Regions from separate parts of the Homo sapiens genome. Here region 2 is linked to region 1. The links are contacts of gene promoters, found by promoter capture Hi-C in blood cells and fetal thymus (Javierre and others, 2016). All regions are on one chromosome and are shown on one strand. The core of a region is centred on a gene start or on the middle of the fragment in contact, and the rest is flanking DNA. Distances in the headings are between cores, read along the strand shown. Region 1 holds the start of SEMA4D (semaphorin 4D). Region 2 overlaps SECISBP2 (SECIS binding protein 2).

What was found. Contacts are between HindIII fragments. The CHiCAGO score rates a contact against its expected background, and 5 or more counts as called.
Region 2: a contact is called between a fragment that was not itself captured here and the fragment with the promoter of SEMA4D in region 1, in 9 of 17 cell types (total CD8 T cells, neutrophils, non-activated CD4 T cells and 6 more). The highest score is 11.4, in total CD8 T cells.

The regions. Positions count from the first base shown.
Region 1 is chr9:89,496,184-89,502,894 of GRCh38, reverse strand. SEMA4D (semaphorin 4D) reads left to right here and starts at 4,782. Exons shown (of 16, transcript NM_001371194.2): 1 at 4,782-4,976. RefSeq lists silencers at 4,693-4,882, 5,313-5,462. The HindIII fragment of the contact is 2,547 bases long and covers 4,363-6,711 here.
Region 2 is chr9:89,321,804-89,328,514 of GRCh38, reverse strand. It overlaps SECISBP2 (SECIS binding protein 2), which reads right to left. Exons shown (of 17, transcript NM_024077.5): 3 at 2,839-3,088; 4 at 2,477-2,618. Among named protein-coding and RNA genes, the nearest start is that of SECISBP2, 6.7 kb to the right of the region's middle. The HindIII fragment of the contact is 1,161 bases long and covers 3,144-4,304 here.

The DNA.
Region 1 (6,711 bases), core at 3,533-6,032:
AGGACTTCTCAGCAGAAATCACAGCGATTCTCACATCACATCATGCTCGTTACAGACTTTAAAATATCGGCTGACTTATCATGACTTGGAAACTACAGCTATCAGATCTGCCGCCAGAGCATATTATTAAAAAAGAAGCAAGTAGATCACATTTTAAAGTATTTTGGTAGCTGGATTTCAGTATAATTCATTTCCTTTTGAATCCTGTATTTGACTTTATGCATTTAAACACATTACTCTGAAAAGAGTTCTGTAGACCTCACCACTCTGTGAAGTTCAAAATGTAGACCAGAGAAGAAAGAAAACTATCAACAAACAATTATAATGGAAGCTGGTGCAGGCACCAAGGAAGTGACGTGTAAGGTGACATTCGAGCTGAGGAGCAGGGTGGGGGATATTAGCTCTGCCCAGGGTGCATGGGTTTGTGTTGGAGGAAATGATGCCAGGGCAGAGCCTTGACACATAAGTGGGTGTCTGCCAGCCAGCCAGGGATGCGAAGAGGTCCATGGTCTGGCAGTTGGTGACAGCAGTCACCTTAAAGGTCAGAAAGGCATTGCTGGGGCAAGTTCACTTGCTGGGGCAAGTCTAATCCAGCAGACACCAGCACTGATTAGATCAATGGTCAGATGGGGCCACATCAGCATCCTGTACACTCCCCAGTATGACGAAGGATGGCTTGGTAAACCATTCTGCATGTTCAGTGATGTGGGAAGTGCTGCCATGAGTGTGTGCACCAAAAATGGATTACACCCCTTCACCAGATTTATCTAGCACTTAGTGGTTTGACAGTTGAACGCTGTGCAGGAGCACAGAGCAATGATAACATCTCAGCACGGCCTTCATTTCTATGCTTCTGCTGGTGTGACCCCACGTTTCCAAGTGTGGCTTTAACAAAAAGAGCTCTGTGGGTCCTGTGGGGGTCTCAGTGGCAGTAAGGACATATGAGGGTGCTAGAGGTGCCTGGGGATCTCAGAGCCTTCAAAATCCCTTTCGGCTTCCTTCATTGACATGTTCTAACAATCAGGGTGCCTGACAGAGACCGGTGTGGACTCTCTATTTTGGAGAGGCTGGCCAGGAAGGCCACACTCTTACCAGCCTTTTCTGGGGTGCGGGGAGGAACAGAGCTAGGAGTAGGAGTCACAGCATGGTCTTGGCAGCCACTGCATGGTAACAGTGGAGGTGTGGCTCACCCACGTCTCTGCAGAGTGTGGTCACATTCAAAGGACATCTCCCCGGACTTTTCTAGAAGCTGCTGGCAGGTCCCAGAGCCAACCTTCCCACAGTCCCTCAGAGGACCCCGTTTCTCCACTTGCTGTGCTGACTCTCTCTCTAAGCTTAGCCTGGACACTCTGCATGCCACTACAGGTGAGAGGCGGCAGGCCGACTCTTTCTGAAGACACCTCCTCCACTGCGTAAGGCTCCACACTGGGCGATCTGGAAACGGCTCCCAGCCCACTACGTGCCTGTTCCCTCCTGCACTGCAAAGTGGAAGCAGAGGATCCTCTCTCCTCATATCCACCTGGGCCGTGTTGGAAGCTGAGTATTATTTGTGCTGCCATACTTGAGTTTTTTTCTCATATGGGACTTAACTATTATCAATCCAGTTACTATGCTCATATGCATATAGATGGTGTCAACATTCTGGCTGGGAAATGCAGAGAAACTTTGCAAAGCATGGTCTCAGTATCCAAACACTTGGCATTTCTGGGGAAACTAGGAAATAGATTGGTTAATATGATCTTTGATATGCTTGAACTTAATATTGGAGGGGAAAGTAAGGGGGTGAGAGGTAAGGCAAGATTGGAGTTCATTTAGCTACTTTTATTTTTATTTTTTGAGACTGAGTTTTGCTCTGTCGCCCAAGCTGGAGTGCAGTGGTATATGATCTTGGCTCACTGCAACCTCCGCCTCCCGGGTTCAAGTGATTCTCCTGCCTCAGCCTCCTGAGTAGCTGGGATTACAGGTTTGTGCCACCATGCCCACCTAATTTTTGTATTTTTAGTAGAGACGGGGTTTCACCATGTTGGCAAGGCTGGTCTCGAACTCCTGACCTCAGGTGATCCGCCTGCCTCAGCCTCCCAAAGTGTTGGGATTACAGGCGTGAGCCACTGCACCCAGCCTGCTACTTTTATATCTATGTTTGAAATGTCCCACGACAGAGTGTGAAACAAGAATAAAAAGGCAAGCTTGGTCACTTTGGGAGACATAGGCAATCATGCTGAGAGAAGGGAACAGGGAAGAAGGTCAGAGAGGAGGGAAGAGGAAGACCTAATAATGGCATCCAAGTCCCGGTTCTAATGGTACTTGGGGCATCTTTGGATGCAAGTGAGCCAATAGTATGGGCTGAAGTTCTATCACTTACAACTAAGAGTCCTGTCTCCTTCATGAATGCAATAAACATGTTTGGGGGCAATTTTATATAAGCACGGTGCAAAGAAGCCCTTGTGTTCGCAGCCTGGGCATTGCGGAAAGCTTTTTGGAGTTTTTACTGAATTCTCTCATGTTCTTCTGTATGCATTAGGAAACAGGCTAGAGAGGACAGTATTCTGGAAGGTCATGATGCCAGAAGTGTGGGCCCCAGGACAGCCATGCAAAGTCTCTTCTTTGCCCTGGGCTGCCCTCTATTAGATTCTGAGCATGTGGGTCTAAAAGCCAGGAGAGAATTCAGCAGTTGTTGAGAAGCATACCCCTCTGCTGCTGGTCCCCTCCCTGCAGTGTGTTCCCAAGGTGGCCCCAGGCCTGTCTAGACGCTGGCTGTGAAGGGCACGCTCCTGTAGGGGCAGCCGGCTCTTCCACAGTGAGGTCTGTCAGAAAGCGCCCACGATAGGCAGGAATCCACTTTCTCATCTAATTTCCACCCATCTGTCCTCATTCTGCCCTTCATAACACCACAGAGTAATCCTTCTTCCCGGGACAGTTTTGCACATATTGGGGTTCTTCTGTCTTGTGCTCCACACATTGATTTTCTAGGCTGAAGACTCCCGGTGGGTCAACTCCCCTCCCACGGGATACTGCTGGCTGCCTTAGACACCAAGCAAGGGCATGGTATTCTAGATGTGTCTGACTAGTGAGGAATAAAAGAGAGTCCCCCCACCCCACCCCAATCAGTGCAATGCTTGCATGTGTAGATCCTAAGCGTGCATCCCTCCTTGGGTATAGAATGCTGTTAAACCAGTTCTGTCCTAATCCGTTCCCATTATGTTTCAATCCAAATGGGATGTGGAACATGGATTCATGGACCCCTACAATTGGAAAAGAGCTTGGAAAAGACTTCTCTAGTTTTTCCTGTAATAGTCACCAGCACTGAACCCGAGCACACGGTGCAGTGGGCTTTACCTGCCATTCTCTCTCCGTGCTCCCCAAACCCTCCAGGACGACCACACTGTCCTCATGTTGCAGGGTACAGAGGTTTGCTGAGGCCTGAGGTTATTTGGAAACTGCAGAGCTGTGAGTCAAGGGAGTCTATCAGATTCCAGGTCTGGATTCTTCAGCAAGAGGGTGGTGGCTGCCATGCCGTAGAGGGAGGAGGGGGTGCGTGCTCCACCCCACCCTGCTTGACACCAGCTTTGCCATCTTAGCCTTTGCTGGGCCGAAGCCCTATTCTCAGAGCTCCGGCACTGAACCACAGAAACCACAGGAGGCCCTAGAACGGAACTCTGAGACTGTTGGGCCTTTAACTCTGTGACTGTTGGGCCTGGGACTGGCTTCATTTGTAAACTCTGGCTCTCAGAGCCAGTGCTCAGCAGGAAAACAGCCTCAGGGCCCCTGCCCCTCAACAGCAGTCTGTAGTCCAGGGAGGTATCACCTGGCCTGGAGAGGGGCTCCCCAACTCCTCACATTTAGGGGAAATCTTAGCTGGTTCCGTAAGAAACTGTGTCCCCTTCTCAGGACTGTGTTCCTCAATAGGCCTCCCAGCCTGGCCAGTCACTGTGCGAGCCCTGTCACCTCTCCTGGGGGCAGAGGGAAGAGGTCTGGATGGAGCAGCACCATCTCTGAGGGCCCCCAGATCCCCAAACCCATGGGCTAGTCACAAACAAGTCTCACCAGCAGCCTCACAGGAGGACCATTTGCCATACAGAGTGGAAAATGATGAACGTTTGGCAAAAGGCTAGCACGGGGGTTCAGGGAAACCAAGACTCCAGGTGGTGCCAGCCCCTCCCCTGGGGAATGGGAGCAGCCTGGTGTGAAATATTCTTGCCCAAAGTCAGCAGCCAAGTGTTCTGGGTGCCACGTGCCTCACGCACACTGCAGGTCAGGTTCTCAGAAGAGCTGGCCCAGGGTCTGGGGGTGAAAAAAAACTGGGGGATTTGGGGGAGGCCTGGAAAGGGTGGGGTTCATCCAGGACCCCAGAAGGGGCAAGCTTGTCTATTGAGAGCTGGTGAGGAAGAGGGTGACAGGGCACCTCTTGGTCCTGGGAACGGGTGCTTGACTCAGCAGAGACCAACCCAGGGCTGAGGGACAACCCTCTGGGCCTGGCGGGGAGGCAAGAGAGATGGGAGGTGAGGAGGAAGGAGTGGGGAGCAAAAGTGGGGAGAAGGGGAGAGAGGTGGAAGAGTGTTGCGAAGGTGAAGAAAGAGGAGGAAAAAGAGAAGGGAGGAAAAGAAAGGTTGGGGGAGGGAAAGGAGGGAGGTGAGCAGGGGCGAGGAGGAGGGAGGAGGAAGGAGGAAGAAAGGGGCGGGGCCATAGGAGGGAAGAGAAGAAGGGGGAGAGGAAGGGGAAGGGAAAGGGGAGGAGGCGGGAAGGGAGGGGGAGCGGAGGAGGGGCCTGCGCGCCCGCCCCGCGCACTCCGTCCCCGCGCCGGCCTCAGCGCTCTCGCGCGCCGCAGCATCCCAGCCGCCGCTGCCGCCGCCGGGCCTCCCCGCCACCCCCTCCCCGGCCCGGCCGCCTCCCGCCGCTGCCGCCGCCGCCGCCGCCGCCATTCCTGGCGCCCGAACTCGCCCGGCCGGGAGCCGCCGCGGGCAGGACGCGCGCTGCAGGTAAGCGGCCGGGCTGGCGCGGGAGGGAGGGCGCGCGGGGCCGGGCAGGTGCGCTGGGGGCGGCCTGGACCCTCCGCGGAGCCCCCACTCCACACCCCTAGGCTCCTCACCGGACCCTCGGGGCCCTCCCCGAACCCCTGCAGGAGCCTCCTTCTGGGATCCCCGGACCCCTGGACTCCTTCCTGGATCCCCCCGGGGCCCCTCCTGGGACGCCTCCCAGAGACACCTACCCGGACCCCTCCGACCCCCTGGACCTCTCTGCTATCCCTCCCCGGCCTTCTCCCCTTCCCGGTTGCCTCCCCAGTCCCTGCGCGCAGGTGGCTCCTCTGGGCGCGGGGGAGCGGGGGCGCGCTGCATACCCGGGCCAGGGAGGGGGCGGTGCGCTCGGCCAGGCCCCGTCGCGCCCCGGCCCGCCCAGTCCGGCCCCGCCAGGTCAGGCCCCACTCCGGCCAGCCGGGCTCTGGCCGGGCCCCCGCGGGCTTCTATTTTGGTCGCGGAGGCCGCGGACCCTGTGCACTGGACCCGGCGCCGCGCACTCAGACAGGTGGGGCAGGTTGGGCCGCAGTGGTCAGGTCGCCGCCTTGGCAGTGAGTGCTGCAGGCCTCGGTTTCCTTTCGGGTTTTGGTTGCATTATTCTAGAACAGCCCAGGAGAACCACAAGCCTTAGCTTGGGCTGCACCTGTTGCAGCCGCCTAGTGAGCTGCAAGGGGCTGGCTCTACTGGGGTTATGCCAGTAAAAACGTGTAAAGGAGAGTTGAACTCGTGGTTGTCCTCTATTTTCTGGCTTAGTATTTTGGGGGGTAGGTGGGAGAGTGGGTGAATGGGAGTCTGTAAGTGGGCAGTTTGCGTCAAATGAGGCCTGGTGTCGAGGGCTGGGTCCTGCTTTCCGGAAGGTTTTCCACATGAAGTTGCTTTGCTTTTGTTTTGAAAACCTCACTCTGTGTTGAGCACATCCCAGGCTCGTGGGTGGCCAGGCCCCCGAAGGCCAAGCTGGACGTGGGGCCTGGGGCCAAGCATCTCACCCTGCTGTTCTGAGTCTTTTCAAATCCACCAGGCGCCACGGAACGGAAGTTTCCTTTCCTGGGGGTGACGTGACACCAGTGGCCTGTCACCTCATATGTGTCCTAGGCCTGGGGCCTGCCTGCTGGCTGCCCAGGCGAGGTTATTTGGGAATGTTTACTGTGTCCCAGAAACAGGCAGCTCTGGCCAGTGCAGGGGCAGGATTCTGGTAGAGATGATAATGCCCTGATTGTCATTTTGACAGTTGGTGTCTGCGTATATCATGTCTTGGTAGTCGTCAGCCAGAAGAAGAAAGCAGGCGGGCTCAGCATACCCACCAGGGAGGCTGGGGTGGGAAGATGAGGGATGCACTGGCCTGTTTCTGTGAGCAAAGACTGCCCTCCCATAAGGCCAGACCTTCAGACTGAGAAGAGTGTACGTGGTACACTCAGCGAGTCAAACAAAGAAATAGAAACACATCACTGGTGCCAGGAGCAGCCCTGGGGTCCCAGGAGGGTGGGCCGCTTAGGAGTTGGTAGACGGTGGAACTCAGTGGCTGTATTTCAGAGTGCAGACAGGCAAAAGGCCACCGTGGGGATGCAGAGCCCCAGCTGCCATGCCAGCCCAAGGTCTTGCAGCACAGCACAAGGGAGGGACTCCATGGGAGGGGGCCCACCTCCTGAGAAGCACACCCAGAGTCTGTTGAAAATGCAGCCTTGCACAGACCCCCCTGAGT
Region 2 (6,711 bases), core at 2,475-4,974, 170 kb after region 1:
CACCTTCCTTTGTAAAAGTATAAAGTTTAAATGACCATAAGTATCAATCACTCTGGTTGGACCATCATGCAGAAAAACCAAAATGCACTGTACATTTAGGAGTATGTATAGTCACGCGCCACATATGATGGTCTGATCAGCAATGGATTACGTATACAACAGCCCCATAAGATTGTAATGAAGCTGAAAAATTCCTATTGTCTACTGGTAATGTCATGGTGCGATTACTCACGTTTGTGGTGATGCCAGTGTAAACAAACCTACTGAGCTAACAGGCATATAAAAGTATAGTACATGCGATGATGTACTGTACATAATACTCGGTAATGACAATAAACAACTATGTCACTTGTTTATGTATTATACTTTTTATCTTTGGAGTATATACTCCCACTACTTACAAAAGAAAAATTTGGCCAGGGCAAGGTGGCTCACGCCTTAATCCCAGCACTTCGGGAGGCTGAGGCAGGCAGATGCAGCCACGAGTTCCAGACCAGCCTGGCCAACATGGTAAAACCCCAACTCTATTGAAAATACAAAAATTAGCTGGGTGTGGGGGCGCATGCCCCCTAGCTACTTGGGAGGCTGAGGCACAAGAATTGCTTGAACTTGGGAGGCAGAGGTTGCAGTGAGCCAAAATAGTGCCACTGCACTCCAGCCTGTGTAACACAGTGAGACTCTGTCTCAAAAAAAAAAAAAAAACACAAAACGACAAAAGAAAAACTTAAGTATAAAGCAGCTTCAGGCAGGTCCCTCAGGAGGGATTCCAGAATAAGGCATTGTTATCACAGGAGATGACAGCTCCACGCATGTTACTGTCCCTGAAGACCTTCCAGTGGGACAATATGTGGAGGTGGAAGACAGTGATACAGATGATTCTGACCCTGTACAGGCCTAGGCTAATGTGTGTGGTTGTGTCTTCGTTTTTAATTAAAAAGTGTAGAAAGTTAAAAAAAAATTAATAGAAAAAAGCTTATAGAGTAAGGATGTAAAGAAAGAAAATATTTTTGTCCAAGCCAAGTATTTTTGGTTTTTCTGCATGTTTGTGTTTTATTACAAAAGGTAAGTGTTATTACAAGAGTCAGAAAGTTAGAAAAATTAAAAATGTATAAAGTAAAAAAGTTACAGTAAGCTAAGGTTAATTATTGAAAAAAATACTTTTATAAATTTCATGTAGCCTAAGTGTACAATGTTTAGAACGTCTCCAACAGTGTACAGTAACACCCTAGGCCTTCACATTCACCCACCACTCAGTCATCGAATCACCCAGAGCAACTTCCAGTTCTGCCAGCTCCATTCATGGTAAGTGCCCTATACGGGTAAAACATTTTATATCTTTTTTTTTTTTTTGGAGACGGAGTCTCGCTCTGTCTCCCAGGCTGGAGTGCAGGGACGCTTGATCTCGGCTCACTGCAAGCTCCGCCTCCCGGGTTCATGCCATTCTCCTGCCTCAGCCTCCCGAGTAGCTGGAACTACAGGTGCCCGCCACCACGCCAGGCTAATATTTTGTATTTTCAGTTGAGACGGGGTTTCACCGTGTTAGCCAGGATGATCTTGATCTCCTGACCTCGTGATCCGCCCGTCTCGGACTCCCAAAGTGCTGGGATTACAGGCGTGAGCCACCGCTGTACCTTTTCTATATTTTGATACACAAATACTTACCACTATGTTACAACTGCCTACAATATTCAGTACAATAATATGGTCTAAAGGTTTATAACCTAGGAACAACAGGCTATATCATATAGCCTAGCTAGGTGGTTGGCTATACCATCTAGGTCTGTGTAAGTACACTCTAAATGTTCCCACAATGACGAAATCACCTAAGGGCACATTTCTCAGAATGTGTCCCCATCAGTAAGTGAGGCATGACTATAATTCTAAGGCTGATGAAATAGTTACCTTAACCTGATTGTGCAGCTGGGCATTTTAATTATTCTTTTTAGACATTTTATTGTATTGCAAATTTAAAGGGACTCTAATGAATTTTCTGTGCTAGTAAACTTTCCATCTTTCAGTTTGCTGGAATAAACTAGAGGGAAGCAGGTAGCATAAAACGCATAACCTCTTCCCCATCTTTCTCCTGAAATGCAATGGATAAGGTAGGCTGCAGCTACATGAAGCCACTCATTTAATTATAAGACCACAGTTACTACAGTTAATAAACGTCCCTTGTACCAGATGGTTTATGAGTGAAGTCAATGAAAAGAGAAAAATGTATATACCAAATAATACAAATTATAGGCACTTAAGATCCCACAATGCAACAGGTACCAAATAATAATCCCATCCCTGGGAAGAAATACCTCTAGAATTGCTCAGGAAGTCTGACGCCCTAAGCTGTGTCAGACCCAGGTCTCATTTCTTGGAGTAGTCACAATGAACAAGCCCATAGAAACAGCTGTATACATAGCAGGAATGTTTCTGGGGCACAAGGAGTAGGCTCGCATTATACTACATTGTTGGTTATTTTTACCTGATTTCAAACTATTCTCAGCGTAAATGGACAAATGATGTGAACCTCTAGCTGATTTTATCTCAGATGATATAGTTCCATCAGCCCTTTCACTGTCAAACTTTTGCTGATCATACGTTTTTTTCTCATCATAGGTTTTCTTCTGCAGGAAAGATTAAAAAGCAACATGAAATAAAACCACCACTATAAAAAAGGTTTAAAGCAGCAAAATATTAAGTATTCACAATTCAATCATTTTTTAAAAGGTTAAATACAAAAAAATACATGATACTTAAATATGATGTACAAATTTACCATTTCTTTACATTTTAAACATTAAAGCAACCAACTAAAGGACACAACAAAACAACATCACTACTCACCTTAAACAGAGCTTTCATTTCTTGTGGGAGAGGGCATGTGTTCTCATTTCGATGCTTCACTGTTTGAAAACCTCGGTAACAACTGGGTTGGTTATAAAGATACTGGGAGCCAGGCACTGAGTAAACATTCTGTGTGGAGTCAAGGGTATAAGGAGAATAGGCATATGGATGAAGAGTTATCTCAGAAGATAAATACTGAGGTGGAAAAGTTGAAGCTCCAAAGGCCATGTCTTCAGTATATATTTTCTGCCTAAGTAAAAAGTGTAAACTTTAGTTGCAGATTTCATACTGCAAACCAAGAAGCTTTTCTGTAATAAACTAATTCAAACTGAACATTTAATATTTCTGAGACCATTCACTCTAGCACTGGAATAATCCCTAATTAAAAGCCAAATAAAATCTCTGGGTGTTTCTTTCTCACCCTGCAAAGAAAGATGTTGACTCTATTTTTTCACTAATGAGCTGGAAGTCCGTAAGAAACATCAACAGAGCCAGAAGATGCTCCAGCAGCTTTTCACCCAATTGCTACCAAGTATTTGGGAAAGCCTCTCCCAGCAACCCTGGCCAAAATGCCCCTAAAGACCATTCTCTCTGCTGCGGGGAGACCCAACAGCCTGCAATGCCTCCACCAAGGCTCCTGCAAATGGTTTTCTCCAGCCCTTCCCTGCTCCAAGCCCACCATGACATCCTGCGCTTTGCTGACTAACAGGGTCAGAGCGCAAAGCAGACACCGCACGGCACCGTGGATGTTAACTACACACTTTACTAACAGATGGACACCAGCTTTGAAGGTTGCTATTGCCTCAATTTATCCCAAGCTGCTAGACTAAACCAAAATATAATTTAACACTAATTTTTCTTTTTTAGCCAATTTGATACAAGGCTACAGGTTTCAACCTTTTTCCCATGAAAGCTGATACAATGACAAAATGCTAAGCAACTGATTTAAAATACAAATAGTAACCTCCTCCTTCCAGCAAATGTTTCTGTTAATTTCCGGAGCTATTCCAAAATGTACTAGTACACTGAAAGGCAAAAAATCCAAACCTAGTCATGACACACCCTTTAAGACCTTCAAACTGCTACGCTGTCAGGAGATATGAGCATAAGCACCGCTTACTAGAAATCATATTTCTAATGCGCTGCAAGTAACAGACTACACTGAATAAGAAAGGGAGACTACAGGCTCTACCTATAATATAATAACGTTTACTGCTTTCACTTCTATCCAGTACTTAATCATATATTCTCTCATCTCACTGTTTACTATTTCATGATATGTTAACTTAGATTTTCTAAGATCTTTTACTTACAGGTAAGTAACTTTAACATGAAATATTCCTAATTAAAAATCAAATAAACCCCTTTTTACTGACCTTTGTCTGTCCAACAAAACAACTGGCCTAGCACTGCTCCAAACATACAGCACTGAGGACTAGCTCTTTGTAGAAAAGAGGCTCAAAGCTTCATCCCACTGCCTACATGTTCCTGTGAATTCTGTGCTGTATTTTGTTTGTAGTTGAGAAAAGCTAGTGGGGGGCAAGTGTCACTGAAGGTGGATAATCTGTTCTTCATAAAAGATGAGTTGACAGAAAAAAAAATGTGAAAAAGACTGTCCCAAGTCCAATAAATAGATAAATGAACAGACAAATGAAATGTAGCTAAAAAGGAAAGCAGGGACAGGTTCCATTGGTTTTGACGGCTGCTGTCATCCAGGAAATTTTCATCCAGGAGTCAGGAGACCTTGGTTGGGGTCCTAGCTCAATCACAATCCAGTTTTCTATTCTGGGTAAGTCATTTGGGTTTCTGTCCCCTCACTGGTCCTTCCTCCTCTGGAAAGTTGGTATTTTCCATTTCCATCCAGTGCAAACACAATTACATGCAGAAAACAACACAAAATACAAAACATCAAAGCAGTAACTCACAGCATCTGGCGTGGCTTCAAATGGCATGTCTGGGAAATTCCAGATGCCAGGAGTGGCCCAGATGACCCTAAACCCACAGTAACACACCTGTTTCTCATTCACTGTCCTAAGCTACCCCATCCATACTAAAATCAAACTGTCTGAGTAATTGTGCAATACCTGCTGGTCTCCTGGCTCCACTTCCCTTTGCCCCTTTCCCACCAACGGCTTCCAGGTCTCCCAGGACCTCCTTCTTGCCTCTCCCTCCAGGCACCCGTTGGGTCTGGCTTGACCATCACATGACTTGAAAAGCTCCCTGGCCTGGACTTTGCTCGCCTGGCTCTCACCTGCCCTCCAAGGCTCTATCTCTGTCTCTTTCCCTAGTGCAGTCTCCTCTACACCCTCCTTATCTCACCCATCTGACACATTCTGGGTCAGAACCTCTTATCTTTCTGCTTAGGACTTGACATAAATATAAACAATCCAGCACCTTCCCTAGTCCAGGCCTCCATCTCCAACTTTCAGGTCATTTCCACTTACTATTTCACTTTTTCCCAATTCAGCACGTATAAATCCCAAATTTAACATCCATTCCCCAAAACAGCCCCATTTACAACTTCTGTTCTCATGTATGATCCTACAATTATTTCCATGTATTCAACCGAATATTTTTGTAACATCTTTCCCACCAAAACCTGTACGGACAATCATGGGGCTCTTTTTTATTTCAACAGTTCTCTCATGTAGTTTCTTTACTATTTCCAGTGCCTAGAACCTGGTCAAAGCCTTCAAGACCCTCTTCTTTAAAAATCTTTCCAAAATTTAGGAGTGATTACAATGACCCCATTTAAGACACTACCAAAAGTTCCCTATTGCCTACCCAGCAAACCTAAAACTTTTCAGCTGTACTATGCAGGCTTCCAATCTACTGACAGCTTCCCCCCAAAATTATCACTTTATTCCTCTACTATCTCCCAAACATATCATGCACATGGTCCCTTCAGTCAGGCAACGACCCAAAGGGGATGCAGTTTCTCCTCCACCCACCGAGCCACGTGCTCAGCTGTACAATGTTGTATACCACTAGTTCTTCTCATAGCTGATCTGCTTTAACTCAAAAGCATCAATTGGTACTAAAATTTTCACAGTATATTGGCAGATGGTGAAAATGCTCAACTACCTCTTGTCAATAGCAGCAGCAATTTTGAAGAATAGCACGTTAATTCTGGTTCTGGTGCTACCTATTTGAATTAGCATGAACAAACATTCCTAGCTTCAGTTTCCCATGTGCAAAATAACATTACATCTGCCTGCCACCTCATGGATTGTAGTAACTATGAAAGAAGTGGAAGTATACAATAATACCCAAACAAAAGGCACACATCCTCATACACAGGTTGCACAGGATTTTTCACAAAGGATGTAACATGACAATGGACATTACTTGGAAGAAACTTATTTTGTTTGCATAGGCAAATTTGTTCATTACATCAGTAAATAATCAGTATTTTCCAAACATGGCAAATGTTATCTATCAGACTACTTCTAATTTCTTTGTCTTGTCCTATAACATAAATATGGAAGAGTCTGGTATGTTCATTTTCATCTCCATCACTTCAAAACTATGGAAGACTTTCAATAATTAATTCCAAATGAATAAATGAGCATCTTTGAGTGCACTGTGAAAGGTACTGGAGGAGGACAAATTCTGTAAAAGGTTACTATACCTTCTTTAAGGAAAGATGAGGGAAGGGGACATACAAAGTTGACTTAGGATGCTATGTAGTTGAACAAGTAAGAAGGAGGAAATAGTTGTTTCAGAAACTTCTATTCCTTTTGTCACAGCAGCAAGAGATCTCCATTTACATGTAATCTGACTATGGCAATGCAATTTTTAATCTATATTAGAACTGCTCAGATAATCAATTCTCAACCATGTGAAGTCTCATTATTTCATCCCCACTTTAAA